Linked DNA regions of Homo sapiens: region 2 is linked to region 1. Evidence: promoter capture Hi-C in 16 types of primary human blood cells and fetal thymus (Javierre and others, 2016). All regions are on one chromosome and are shown on one strand. Each heading gives the region's core, a stretch centred on a gene start or on the middle of the fragment in contact. The rest is flanking DNA. Distances are from core to core; before and after follow the strand shown.

What was found. The method cuts DNA at HindIII sites, captures the fragments that hold promoters and counts their contacts. A CHiCAGO score of 5 or more calls a contact.
Region 2: the fragment with the promoter of MAST1 here is called in contact with the fragment with the promoter of ZNF564 in region 1 in 2 of 17 cell types (neutrophils and total CD8 T cells); the score reaches 6.3 in neutrophils.

Annotation. Positions count from the first base shown.
Region 1 is chr19:12,546,668-12,554,094 of GRCh38, reverse strand. ZNF564 (zinc finger protein 564) reads left to right here and starts at 2,613. Exons shown (of 4, transcript NM_144976.4): 1 at 2,613-2,765. The coding sequence starts at 2,763. LINC02926 (long intergenic non-protein coding RNA 2926) reads right to left here and starts at 2,369. Exons shown (of 2, transcript NR_187485.1): 1 at 1,226-2,369; 2 at 451-720. RefSeq lists enhancers at 561-1,060, 1,061-1,562, 2,346-2,640, 2,706-2,815, 3,474-3,976 and a silencer at 3,046-3,125. The HindIII fragment of the contact is 25,081 bases long and covers 1,606-7,427 here.
Region 2 is chr19:12,836,564-12,843,770 of GRCh38, reverse strand. It overlaps MAST1 (microtubule associated serine/threonine kinase 1), which reads right to left and starts at 5,256. Exons shown (of 26, transcript NM_014975.3): 1 at 5,116-5,256; 2 at 3,237-3,325; 3 at 2,705-2,780; 4 at 164-242. The coding sequence starts at 5,198. RefSeq lists an enhancer at 3,210-3,269 and silencers at 5,176-5,225, 5,276-5,455, 5,460-5,643. The HindIII fragment of the contact is 9,607 bases long and covers 1-6,305 here.

The sequences.
Region 1 (7,427 bases), core at 1,364-3,863:
GTTGGCCAGGAGGGTCTCGATCTCTTGACCTCATGATCCGCCCACCTCAGCCTCCTGAAGTGCTGGGATTATAGGCATGAGCCACCGCGTCCGGCCTTTTTATTTATTTTTCATAGAGATGGGGTCTCGACATCTTTCCCAGGCTGGTCTTGAATTCCTGGGCTCGAGCAATCCTCCCTCCGCAGCCTCCCAAAGTGCTGGGATTACAGGCGTGAACCACTGCATCCAACCCCTGTCCAGATAATTTTTGGCTTCTGTGTAGCATTCCTTTCCCCAGCGTACAGGACAGGACACTCTTTGGAGTGAGAGTCTTATGACCCACGATCACATTAGAGTTCTGCAGTGGACAGGTGAATGGGGGGCAGGAGAAGGTCAGAGAGAGAGAGTTTCTGTTTACTGTAACAAGGACTATGGGAGTTATGAGTCAGGAAGCATGGATGGAAACCAATGTATAAATCATAATAGCATAGCTGATATCTTTGTTTTCTCAAAGGAATCATTACTTGCCAGTTTTAAAATCCATATAAAGTATTTTAGAATTTTTTGTCTTCCAGCTTATACATAACCACAGAAGGAAAGCAGGAACTCTGCTAGTTTCTTAAAAACAAACAAACAGCAAAGGGGATTGAAGGTCTTTTTTCTTACCTAAGTGGATCAGTGTTGGTGAGAAGCAAGTGAATAAACTGCAGTGGGCAGGAGAGCCTGAGACCAGTCTGGAGCCTGCAAAGAGAGGGAAAGGGTGCTTCTTGGGCAGCCTGCCCGCCCTTGCAGGTGGCCTCCAGCTGCTCAGGAGTGCAGATTCTTTTTTTAATTTTAATTTTATTTTTTACTTTTATTATTTTTTTGAGGCAGAGTCTCACTGTTTTGGCACCCAGGCTGGAGTGCAGTGGCGCAGTCTGGGCTTACTGCAACCTCTGCCTCCCGGGTTCAAGCGGTTCTCCTGCCTCAGCCTCCCGAGTGGCTGGGATTACAGGCACGCGCCACCACGCCCGGCTAATTTTTGTATTTTTACTATAGACGAGGTTTCACCATTTGGCCAGGCTGGTCTCGAACTCCTGACCTCAGGTGATCCGCCCGCCTGGGCCTCTCAAAGTGCTGGCGTGAGCCACCGCGCCTGGCCAGGAATGTGGATTCTGAGAAGCTGCAGAGCTGTGAAAAGCAGGAGACCCATGTGCAGATGTGGTTGGGTTGGGGGTGGAGGGTTCTGTCTTTTCTGAGGTTGTACCTTTGGCGCCTGGGGCCATTTCCTGGACAGTGTTTTGGTTTTAGCATTCATGGGGTCGCTGAGTCAGGCTGTAATTTGTATACATGAAGAAAATCTGTGAGGGTCAGACTCAGTGAAAAACTTGTTTGCATTGTCCCCTGGAGAAAAGGTTTGGGAACATGACAATTTATTTAGGTCACGACTTTACATTGACTCCGGGTGAGAGTTTCCTGCTGGTACAAATGAAGGTTTTGAAGGAAAGAGTGTTTCCACACTGTGAGGAGAGGACTGGAGGGCACCTTGAGCTCCCAAAGTTGAATTCTTAAGTGTCCCTGTCTCATCACCAGGTTCTGATCCACACTGGGGTTCCATTTCAGCAGTTAGAGTCTGGGTCCCAAGCTTGGGATTATTTTATTTTATATTTCATTTCTTCATTTCATTATTTCATTTCATTTCATATTTCATTTTTTAGTCTCGCTCTGTCGCCCAGGCTGGAGTGCAATGGCGCTATCTCGGCTCACTGCAACTTCCCCCTCCCAGGTTCAAGCGATTCTCGTACCTCAGCTTCCCGAGTTGCTGGGATTACAGGCACCTGCCACCACGCCTGGCTAATTTTTGTATTTTTAGTAGAGATGGGGTTTCACCATGTTGGTTAGGCTGGTCTTGAACTCCTGACCTTAAGCAATTTTCTCACCTTGGCCTTCCAAAGTTCTGGGATTACAGGCGTGAGCCACCGCGCCCGGCGCTTGGGAATATTTTTAACGTTATGATTGTGGGTTTTCCTTGTGAACTGCGGGTGAAGCAGGCTGCTTGTCTGAGCTAGTTCAAATGTTTGCTTACTTCTCTTGGTTTCTTTATAGATGATCGCTGTCATAAAAACTCCAGTTTTTCCTATACATTTAATACTTTTATTTCTTTGTCCGTTTTAATTTTCTTGCCTGAAAGAAGCAAGCCCTCCTCCCTCCTGTTACACTGTGGTCTGGCCTGGCCTGGGCGCGCCTCCTACTCCGAGGCCAGGGGATGGCTCCACTGGACGCCGAGTCTGTCATTCCCTGTGCACACTTGTGACTCTGTGTCCGGGAGGAAAAGGCAGGAAGGGCACCCTGAGTGCAGAAACACGCCAGTGTCACCTCTGCAGAGCCTGAAACACTTTCTGCTTAAATGCAAATATCCTCCCCGGCACAGAAGGTTACAGAAGGAGGAAGCCCGGCCCGCGAAGGGCAGTGGCCAAGACCCTGTCAATCTGTCTTTACTCAGCCACATACCGCATTGCTTCTCCTGTCACTCAGTACCAAGGGGGCAGGACTTGAATCATCACCCAATCAGGGGCACTGGGGCGGGAACCTGCAAACCATCCAATCAGGAACTCTGCAAGGGGGACAGGGGCAATGTTCAACAACTCCGCGGGGTCTTCCTGTTTCGTGTCCGCTGCGTTTGGGTTCCGGTCTCCGCTTCTCCAGTGGCCCCGGTGGCTCCACCGCAGCGTCTGGCGCGCTGGGACCTGCACAGGCCGGAGAGAGCCGTAGGCAGGACCCCGGGACACCCTGGAAGCCAGGAAATGGTGCGTGTGCGGGGCCGGGCGCCTGGAGACTGGGGGAGGGGCTTGTGGGAACCGGCCGGAACCGGCTGTGGAAGCACCCTGGCCTCCCTGCAGCGACTCCAGGGTCTGGGACCCGAGTTCCCTGGCGCAGCTCGGCCCTCTGTCCCCTCGGCCGCAGGGTGGGTTGGGCCGTAGCCAGTACCCCAGGCGTCCTGTCCCGTCCCTGCGCGGCGACTGCGGCCTCGGCCTCGGAGCCCTGTCTGGGCAGCTCCGCGCCCGCAGCCCCGCCTCTCTCCAGATTGTTTGTACTGGGACACGGGAGGGTCATAAGGCGGAATCCCGTCTCGGGTGTGCGGTTCGTGCATGGGAAGAGCTGTGGGCTGTGGCCTTCCCAGTACATCGTCTTTTTTTCCGGGGGACTGGTCTTCCTCCGAGTCTTCCAAACGTACTGGAAAAAGAATCTCAAACCTACGACTCCCGTTTTTTTTAGCCTAGCTTTTTCTGGGGCTGGAAATAAATGCCTAAATTTCCGGTTCCTTCCCCGCATTCCCAAAGGTGACCTCCCCTCGCCAAATCAACATTATCAGCTGTTTTTTGTTTGACATTTAAGACACAGTATTTTAGTTGTTTATAGTTTCTTTCACCATACTCTTTTGAAAGGATTTGTTTTCTGTTTGTTGTTTTTTTTTTCTTTTCAGACAGAGTTTCGCTCTGTCGCCCAGGCTGGAGTGCAGTGGGAAGATCTCAGCTCACTGCAACCTTCGCCTTCCGGGTTCAAGCAATTCTCCTGCCTCAGCCTCCTGAGTAACTGGGATTACAGGCATGCGCCGCCACGACCGGCTACTTTTTGTATTTTTGGTAGAAACTGGGTTTCTCCATGTTGGCCAGGTTGGTCTCAAACTCCAGACCTCAGGTGATCCGCTCACCTCCGCCTCCCAAAATGCTGGTATTACAGACGTGAGCCACCGCGCCCGGCCTCTTGTTTGTGTACTTGTAACCTGAGAGGGAAACGGAGAATAAGAACCTGACACTCTACGGTAAAATTTTTTTTTTTTTTTGAGACAGAGTTTCGCTCTTATTGCCCAGGCTGGAGTGCAATGGCGCGATCTCAGCTCACTGCAACCTCCACCTCCTGGGTTCAAGCGATTCTCCTGCCTCAGCCTCCCGTGTAACTGGGATTACAGGCATGCGCCACCATGCCCGGCTAATTTTGTATTTTTAGTAGAGACAGGGTTTCTCCATGTTGGCCAGGCTGGTCTCGAACTCCCGACCTCAGGTGATCCGCCTGCCTCGGCCTCCCAAAGTGCTGGGATTACAGGCGTGAGCCACCGCGCCCGGCCGTGGTAAAAAAATTTTTGTGCTTCCCCTCCTTTTATCTTTCCTAAGCCCCGACGCCTAATCAGAATGTCTTTGGGTGGAGTTTCCCCTTTGGAAACTTTACAAGGTGATGTGGCCCTCTATCTTTTCCTGGTCCTGATTTTCAGAACTGCCTGGGCCTGACCCAGGATACCCACAGCTGCCACTTCTCTTGGAGGATCTAGTGATTATCAACCCCTGGGTCACTCCTCCCAGAGGACAGCTTAAGGTGTAGGGGTGGGGCCTCTCACGGGAGCAGCTGTATGCCCTGAGGTGGGAGGAGTCTCCCGGTATCCCCTTCCTCTGAAAAGTTTACCCTTTGGGACGCTCAGCTTTTCTTCCTCAACCCCAGTTTCCGTTCCTTAGGGACACATTGATGGTTACCCAATCTTAGGCTGTTACTGAGAGGAAAAGACACAAATGATTCCTGACCTCTGGATTGTTTTTAGTCTAGTGAAGGGAGGAAAACTATCTCAAAGGAGAAGGAAAACCTGCCCCATTGAAATGGTGCGAGAACCTGAAAGTTAAAATGCGCTTGGGGCAGAGTGAGCAGGGCACAATTCACTGTCTTCAGGGAGGTTGGTCACTGAGCACTCAGTGAGCCAGGGTGGGGCTGGGAGATGTCCTAGGGGATAGGGTGACCTCACCTGACATTGGAATCAGATAAATGTCTGTATTCCAGGTCAGCATTGCCTCTCCCTGGGTTTGTAAACCCTTGAAAAGGTTTATTTGCTTATTTGATCCTGTTTTTCATTAAATGTAGAATGTATTTTATCAGTAGTGCTTGAAAGACAAGATAAAGTGTTTGCAAAGGGAGGGTCACAAAGGGGAGAAAGAGGCAGAAAGTAGATTTGAGGGAAAACAATTATCTAGTCTTACATTCAATTTGTTAAAAAATCTTATTTGTGTAGTTTCCTCTCCGCAACATGTATGGTAGGTTTCTCAGGTCTATTTTCTTCTTTTGGGTGATTTCAGATCAATCCCAGAACTTAGCCTTGAGAATGCTACTGCGGATAAGAATCTCAGATAAGTAGGGAAATTCAGTCTTCCATTATGGCTACAGAGAAACGAATACATTTCCACATTAATTGGTGAAATACAGAGATTCTCTAAAATATCTTCTCCTTTGCAGGGTAGAGATTTTGTCGTAATGGATAACTGTTCTGTATCCTTTCATCTGGACTTTGGTGATTAATGCTAAATCCTATCAGATGGGACTTTGAAATATTAAATATTAGTGAATTAAATATTAGTAAAGAAGTTGTCATGGAAGTAACAATAATGTGAGGTCTCTATTGTCTGAAAGGGATAGATAAATGTGCTTTTCATGTTTAAGCTATAGAATACAAATGTCTTGCCAGCCGCGATGGCTGACGCCTGTTATCCCAGCACCAAGGCAGGTGGATCACGAGGTCAGGAGATCGCGACCATCCTGGCTAACATGGTGAAACCCCGTCTCTACTAAAAAATACAAAAAATTGGCCGGGCACGGTGGCTCACGCCTTTAATCCCAGCACTTTGGGAGGCCAAGGTGTGCGGATCACAAGGTCAGGAGATGGAAACCATCCTGGCTAACACAGTGAAACCCGGTCTCTACTAAAAATACAAAAATTAGCCGGGTGTGGCGGTGTGTGCCTGTAGTCCCAGCTGCTGGGTGGCTGAGGCAGGAGAATGACGTGAACCCGGGAGGCGGAGGTTGCAGTGAGCCGGGATCGTGCCACTGGACTCCAGCCTGGGCGACAGAGCTAGACTCCGTCTCAAAAAAAAAAAAAAAAAGAATACAAATGTCTTACAGTTTCCTTTCCTCCTATATACATAAATGGTAAGTTTGAGTGATTTTGCTGGATTCTTCAAACACAGGATATTTTCTTACTTAAAAATAAGTGAAACTGGGCGTGGTGGCTCATGCCTGTAATCCCAGCCCTTTGGGAGGCTGAGGTGGGTGGATCACCTGAGGTGAGTTTGAGACCAGCCTGACCAACATGGAGAAACCCTGTTTCTACTAAAAATACAAAATTAGCCGGGCATGGTGGCGCATGCCTGTAATCCCAGCTACTCGGGAGGCTGAGGCAGGAGAATTGCTTGAACCCAGCAGGCGGAAGTTGCGGTGAGCCGAGATCGTGCCACTGCACTCCAGCCTGAGCAACAAGAGTGAAACTCAGTCTCAAAAAAAAAAAAAAAAAGTAAGTGAATATAGTCTTGTCTAAGGAAGCAGAGGTCTGAGGCCAAGTGTGCCTCAGAGTGACTCCCAACTAAGAGCCTGCAAAGGGAGGTCATTGAAGTCCCAGTTGGTTCTTCCTGGGTAGAACTTGGCAGGCATCCCAGCCTTATCACTCCAACCAGGGGAGGGGTCCTTTATACTGAGAGAAGCTACAGACCACTGGGAAGCTGGGGATGCACACATAGGCATAGTTGGGAGGGTGATACCCTGTCTGAGGTTGTAATAGTTAATTGTTCAGATAATAACAGTAAACCATGGGCTCCCATGATTTGAGAGAGTTGTTTCTAGACATCCTCAAATACAAGAAATCCGGAGTTAGGTAAGAAGTGACTTTATGTGAAAGGAGTATAACGAAAAGGTGAAAGCAGTAGATACAAGATCTGCAAGCATCCCAGAGGTTAGGCAGAAAAAGGCTTTTCTGGTGGAAGTGGCGGCTTACATCTATAATCCCAGCACTTTGGGAGGCCGAAACAGGAGGATTGCTTGAGGTCAGGAGTTTGAGACTAACCTGTACACATAGTAAGACCATCTCTCTACAAAATTAAAAAAAATTGTGGTGGTGCACACCTATAGTCCCAGCCGAGGCTGAGGTGGGAGGATCCCTTGAGCCCAGAAGATCAAGGCTCCAGTGAGCAATGATTCTGGCATTGTACTCTAGCCTGGACAACAGAGCAAGACCCTGTCTCCCCTCCTCTTCCCCTAAAAAAGTTTTTCATTCATGGGGAGGAACAAATAAGATTAGGAATAGGTGGGAGGAGAGGGCAGAGTGGAAAGTGCAAAATCGGATCCTAGGTCAGAGAATATTTTTCCTGAGGTTAGTCTGTTTTTAGGATGGTTTATAAAGGAGGGATTGGGTGGGTGCTTCCTTAGGCTGTGGAGGATGGGTCAAAGTTCAGGGCTGAAAGGAGGAGAGAAACTTAACCATTAAGGTTGGATTTAGAGATATTTTGTTTTGACTGATCAGTGAAGACAAAACTGTCCAGCCAATTGTTTATGAAGTAAACAATGGGAATTTGGAGAGTCTGTTTTGTTTTTTCTTTTTTGAGACAGAGTCTTGCTCTGTCACCCAGGCTGGAGTGCAGTGGCGCGATCTTGGCTCACTGCAA
Region 2 (7,207 bases), core at 4,007-6,506, 290 kb before region 1:
TCTTGGCCTCCCAAAGTACTGGGATTACAGGCTTGAGTCACTGAGCCTGGCCCTAAACTGTCATCAAGCCCAGCCTGGACTGCTGGCCTGGGTGTGGGTCTTCAGGCTGGAGGGCCCCTGAATTCCTTACCCACCGGCCCACCCACCTACTTTCCACACTCACCGAGACGGTGGAACTGGGCGTGTTGGTGCCATAGCCAGATGAAGGGAGCGAGGCCAGAGACCACCGGCGTCCGTCCGCCCTGGAACCCAGCCAAGGTGCTCAGAGGCCACAAGGCCCCAGCGGTCCCCCAACTCCTCAGGGTGTGGGTGAAGCCACTGGCCAGGGCCAGGGTGGGGGTTGGGGGAATATATCTGCACTCTAAGATTCCTCAAGGCCCTCAGAATCAAGGGGATAAAGAGGGACTCTTCCAGGCAGGCACCGGGAATTGGAGGGAGGATCCGTCTCCACTCTCCTCCCCACGGTCCCCTCTCTTATCATTCAGAGTGGACACCGAGAACTGGAAAAGCCCCCACCCAGTGAAGCCTTTCCAGAGAGATTCTAGAAATTTCCCCCAAGTGAACACTCTCCATGAGAAAGCTCTGAGGGAGACCCTTGGATCTTCTCAGAGAAAAAAGACCCGTCCCACCCCCCAACATGTTCTGACATAGAATATTGTGTCCTTATGCTCTCGTGCACACAGACACAGTCACTGTTGCAGCCAAATCCATTAATGTTGGTGTGACTATCAGGTCAGGCTCACATACTGGCAGTGCACACATTTACACTTCACACACACGAAGACACACACTCACACATGACTCCTCAACACAGACACCCACACGTATTGACTATCCCATCCATGGACCCAAATATCACACTCTCACACACTAATGCACAATCACGCGTGCAAGACCAGACATGCACTCACCTATAGACACATGTGCTTCCACTCAGTACTCACACTCGGACACACAGACTCACCCAAACATACTCCACACTTCCACATTCACACAGATGCACGTTCCAGACACCCACGCTCACTACCACACATTGAAACTTGCACACAGCGACACACTCATTCACACTCGCACGCAGATGCACACACACAGGGACACACATCGGCGCGTGCTCATGTGAGTGCACAACACACATTAGCATGTGCATGTGTAAGCGTGTGGCTGTGAGACAGTAAACTGGACGGGCGCGGTGGCTCATGCCTGTAATCCTAGCATTTTGGGAGGCCGAGGCGGGTGGATCACCTGAGGTCAGAAGTTCGAGACCAGCATGACCAACCTGGTGAAACCCCATCTCTACTAAAAATACAAAAATTAGCCGGGCGTGGTGGCAGGCGCCTGTAATCCCAGCTACTTGGGAAGCTGAGGCAGGAGAATCGCTTGAACCCAGAAGGCGGAAATTGCAGTGAGCCGAGATCCCGCCATTGCACTCCAGCCTGGGCAACAGAGCGAGACTCTGTCTCAAGAAAAGAAAAAAAAAAGAGAGAGAGAGAGAGAGACAGTAAACACTGTGACTCTGTGTTTACTATCTCACAGCCACACACTCACACACGCTTACACCCACACACAGATTGCACGCTCACCTGGAGACATACCTGACTTGCTCCTCTCACATATTCACAGACACTTACAATCCTACAGACACATGTTCACACGTTCACATTCGCAGACTCGTGCCATTGCATAGGCACGTAATCCCTCACACAGTGACAATCACACACACACACCAGCACACTTTGCACAGTTACAAGGACACACACACACCCCATTTATTGGACTCCTCCCTTCCTTCTTCCTCCCAGCAGTCCCCTCGCTCAGTCCTCCCCGCTTGCGGATAAACATGTGAGACCCTATCCCAGAGCCTTGTCCTGGCTCTCTATTGCCCTCAGCTAAATTCCATGGTCAATAGGCGGTTCCCCCACTTTCCCAAGGGAGCTGTCTGTCTTCACAGTCTCCTTTGACTCTCACAACACAGCCTTCATCAGCCTTTGCACTGATCCCCATTCTCTGGCCTGCCTGCCCTATTCGACTCAGAGGGTAGAGACAGGACGTCATTGACCCCATACGCCCAGCTCCTAAGAACATAGCAGGTGTTTAGACACCATTTTTAGAATGAATAGAGTTCAAAGAAAAAGAGACAGGCCCAAACTCCCAGAAACGTTTCTCCAGAAAACATCAGAGAAACCTCTCTGCCTCCCCCAGTTTCACCAAAGGCCCATAGAAAATTCATTTAAGGACACCCCAGAAACCCTAAGAGACCCTTGGAAAGAAACCTGAGATTCCTCCCCTTGAGAAACAGCCCTAGTCGTCCTCCCCCACCTCGGGGACCAAGAGTCCCTCGATAGGCATCGCGCAATCTGCGCTTGCGCACGTCATCTTGGCTGCCCCGTCCTGTTGCTATGGAAACACCTGGCCAGGAGAGCAAGGCTCGGAGAGACTAAGACCCCGCGCCCAGGGCGCACGCGCTTTCGACCTGCCGCAAAGGGAGCCCCACCGCCTTCCCCGTTCCAGATCGGCGATTGGACCCCGCCTTCTTATAGGCCCCGCCCCGAAGGCTAGGCGCTCCTTCCCGCTGAGACCTTGGGGCACTCGCTGGTCCCCTCAGGCCCCAGCTCGGGTGCAATTAGGAGGAGAACAGATGGCGGCCCAGACAGTGGTTGGGGAGGGTCTGCCCAGGGTTCTGGGGCCCTGGAGGGGAGGGACTCACCTTCGGGAGGAGGCAAACGAGAAGTGGGCGGGGGTGTTGGGGGAGAAGTTTCGGGGGCTGTCCAGGGGACTGCTGCCTATGAGAGAAAGAGGGGGCAAATCCTGTCAGGTCTCTCGTTCCCTAAAGCGGCGTGCAAACAGCAGCATGTCCTGTCTTTAGTCTAGTCCCGCCTATTATGGGGAGACCACGCCCCTTCGCCTGTGGCCCCGCCTCTCTAAATTTTTTCGTTGCCGAGTCAGCCTGGCCCCTTCCAAGACGATTCTGGCTTCATCTGGGATGGCCCCGCCCCTCAGGTACGACTCCTCCTTTCTGTCCGTCCCACCTGAGTCTCCGCCCACCTGAGTCTCCGCCCCCCAATGACCGTCCCTCTGCGACTGACCACACCCACACAAGCATGGCCCCGCCCCTTATCCAAACTGGTTCGCCTCCATTCAAACTGCGCCCCTTCTGTAGCATGACCACGCTTCCTCGCCTGAGGCCCCGCCTACTGTAGGCCAGTCTGCACCCACCAAGTCTCTACCACTGGCCTCACCTAGGTGACCTGGCAGCGGGGAGTGGGGTCTCGGTAGCGTGGGTGAAGTGCTGGTCAGGATGAGGCTTTTCCGATTACTGGTGCGGCAGCTGCGGGGAAGGTAAGGCAGGGGGGCCGGGCCGGGCCGCAGCCCAGTGAGTTCTTGAGCCCCACCAGCTGACCTCCTGTCTCAGATCCCCGCCTATCTCCCATCCATGTGTGTTTGGAGGCTCCCTGGGAGGGTTTCTCGAAGAAAGGTGGTGCAGGCCTCGGCAGGACTGTGTACGGCAGGGGATGTGCATATGACATGTGTGTGAGAAACTCTCAGTATGGATTATGTGTAGGGCAGTGTCTGTCATGGTGTGATAGTCACTGTGTCTAGGTGACACCATTGGTGATACTGAGCGTGTCTCAGTCTATGCGTGACATTCACTGTAGGTATCCACGTGTGGTATCCACTGTATGAATTCAACAATGTGTGACGCTGAATGCATTCTAGTGTGATACGTGTGACACAACGTGGGTTTATCTTGTGTGATACAATTTGAGCATTTGTGTGTCTATGTGACACAGTGTGAAATGCCACTTGTCCATAACAATGTGTGCTGTAACACAGGCAGGTTGTATTATTATTATTTTTTTTCTTTTAAATCAATGTCTCGCTCTGTCGCCCGGCTGGAGTGCAGTGTGCAGTGGCTCACTGCAGCCTCAAACTCCTGGGCTCAAGCAATCCTCCCGCCTCACCTCACCCTCCTGAGTAGCTGGGACTACAGGTGCCTGCCACCATGCCTGGCCAGGATGCATGATCCCCCCTACATGTATCTATGTCTTTGTGTGGCATTCTGAGTCTGTGTCCGATACTGTCCTTCCGTCTGGGTGTGACATTCACCATGCTTGTCCATGTGTATGTAGCATCTATTGTGTGAATTTAACATCTTGTGACACTGTGTCCAAACATGTCACCACATTTGACATTCTCTAGGTGAGTCTTGCAATGTGATAACATGTGATTTTGCGTGGTTCTGTCTCTGCAAGATCCCTACATCTGTTTATCCTGATGTCAGTGTGACATAGTATGTGAGATACCTAGATATGACATCGTGTGTTGTGACATTCTTGGATGCATGGATGGGATATTGAAACACATGTTTGCATCTTGGATGACATAACTGTGTGTGTGTGGATCGCCATGTAAGTGACATCTTACTAGGTGTACACGACGTGGTGCCCCTGTGTGTCTGTGCATGGTTCTGACCTGTGGCAGCTGCAAGGCTAGGTATGTGTGGCACCTCCCAGTGTATCTGGGCCACTAGGGCTGTTGTGTGTATGTGTGTGACATCATGTCCTGTGTGACGCTGTGTGTCACTATTTTCAGTGTAAGGCTGTGTTCGGGGGGGGGGGTTGTGTTATGATAAACCCCCCCTTTTTTCTACCCCTCAGCATCCAGCTCCCGAAGAGGGAGCCCCAAGCCCCTCCGTCCGTCCCCTCACCCACAGCCGCAGTGACTGAGCATATTAGCGCGTCCAGGAGCACGCGGCATGGGGGTGGGGGGAGGCCAGGCTGCGGCTATTGTTCTGAGGGTGCCAAGCCCCCCAGCCTCCCCTTCTTCCTCTACCCCCACCAGGCTGTTGGAGCCCGCAGCGCCAGCAGACAAAGGCGCCACAAACCCCCAGTGGCGCAGCCCCCTCCCCCCGCGGCCGTCCTCTCCAGCGTGCAAGCCCCCCAGACTCGGCCCACACCACCCCCCATTCAACCCCAACCCCGGCGGGAAGGCGCAGCTGGGGCACCTCTGGCGCAGCTGGACCGGGCGCAGCATCCCGGGCCCCGCCCTGCAGCAGTACCCGGAGCGGCGGCTTTTGCGGGGAGGGCCGGGACAATGTCTAGGGGATCGGGGGTCTACCTCTTGGTGCGGCGGAACATACTGCCGCCGGGGAAGGAGGGCATCGAGAAATTAGAAAGCGCGGTCCAGAGAGAGTCAGACATGACCCGGCGGCGGCGACATGGTGGCAGGTGCGGCAGCAGCGGCGGAGGCGGCGGCGGCGGCGGCGCGGGGAGCAAGCGCGCGGGGCGGAGGCTGCAGCCGCCGCAGCGGGCAGGGGAGGGCAGGGAAGGGGAGGGCCCTGCGGCTGCAGCCGGCCGGGAGGGGGCGCTGCTGCGTGCCGGCGAGCCAGGCCCCGCCCGCGCACTCGCCTGGCGCCCCCACCCCGGCGGGAGAAGGGGCGGCCAGCCCCCGCCACGTCTCTCCCCAGGCTCACCTGCTGCTTTTCCGGGGCAGGGGCAAATCCTTCTGGAAGGCAAAGGGGCAAAACGATGAAGGTCAGCGTGGACCTGCCGTTGCTGCCCACAAGCATTATCAACTCCCTGGAGGAGCAGAAGCAGGGTAAGACAGGCCCCTCTTCAGCACTGTCACTTTCACCCTTGGCCATGCACTGCGGGCCAAGTTTCTTGGGGGAGAGGATCCCTGGGTGATTCCTCTCCTGACCCTCAGAGACCAACAGAGGCCCACGTACACAGGCGGGGCGCCATATAAAGGCAAGTGAGTTGGCATATCAGCGTGTGTTTGTGCAAATGAAATAGGAATCATTATTTGAAAAATATGTCTTGAGCACCTACTGTATGCTGACCCAATCCTAGGCACTAGGGACACAGTAGTGAATAAATTACAAGTCCGGTGTGGTGGTGTGCACCTCTAGTCCCAGCTACTTGGGAGGTTGAGGCAGGAGAATCGCTTGAGTCCAAGGAAACACCAGCGTGGGCAACACAGCAAGACTCTCTGTCTCAAGGAGAAAAAAAAAAAAGTTTCTGGCCTTTTGGGACTAGTATTTATAGGGTAAAGGGGACATTAAACAAGATTAGTGTAGAAGTGAACGAAATCATTTTAGACAATAATTAGTCTTATGAATAAATTAAACAGGGTGATGTGATGGACAATGGCTAGGATGGAGACACATTGTCAGACAGGGCTGCTCTGTGGAGGTGACTTTTAAGCTGGTTGCTGAAAGATAAGAGCCAGCCATGGGAGGATCTGTGGAGAGAGCATTCCAGGTGGAGGGAACTGCAAGGGCAAAGGCCTGGAGGCGGGAATAAGCTTAGCGTACTCAATGAATGAATGAAAGGTTGAATGAATGAAAGGTTGAAAGAATGAATGACTCATCTACACCTCAGCAGATCTATCTGACTCCCAGCTAGAGTCATAGAGTTGGGGTAGGGGGTGGGGGGTAGGTAAGTAGAGTGACTCACAACTGAGATTTAAAATGGGAACCACGGAGGCTGAGGTGGGAGAATCTCTTGAGCTCAGGAGGTCGAGGTTATAGTGAACTATGATTGCACCACTGCTGGAGTAAGACACCCTCTCAATTAACAATAAATAAATAAATAATAAAAAGTTTAAAAAATAAAAAAATAAAAATGGAAATTCAGGTGATGGCCGCATAGTCATTTTTTATAATGACAATAATAATAATTAGTGAGTATTAACTTTATGTGTCTGCATTTGAAGAAGGTCACCTTCCATTTGTCAAGCTCTTAGGAAGTCACTGTAGGGATCAGGAGATATGGGGTCTTGGCTTTTTTCTGAGGAAAGGAATGGGGTACAAGGGGCAACACCTGCCAGCCAGTTTTCTATCCACAGGGTGAGGTGGAAGGAAGGAAACTGAGTGGGGCTGCAGGTGGAAAGATTTGGGGGAGAGTTTCAAAAGGCCTTTGGAGGGGACTCCAACAAAAGGAAAATGAGGGATGTCCTAGACATTTCTAGGATCTCTAAAAGCAAAAAGCCTAGGTTCAAATCTCAATTCTGCTTTTTATGACCTTGGCAAATGACCTTCCAATAGTCCCGTGTCTCCTTGAGGATCTTAGGAGTTGATGCAGATGCCTAGCCCCTTAGCATGGTGCCTAGCACATAGCAAGTGCTCAATAAATACTAAGTCTGGAGAACAGGCGTTATTAAGGAGGGACATGCTGCATGACAGAGGATGGGCCACAGCGTCCTCCCA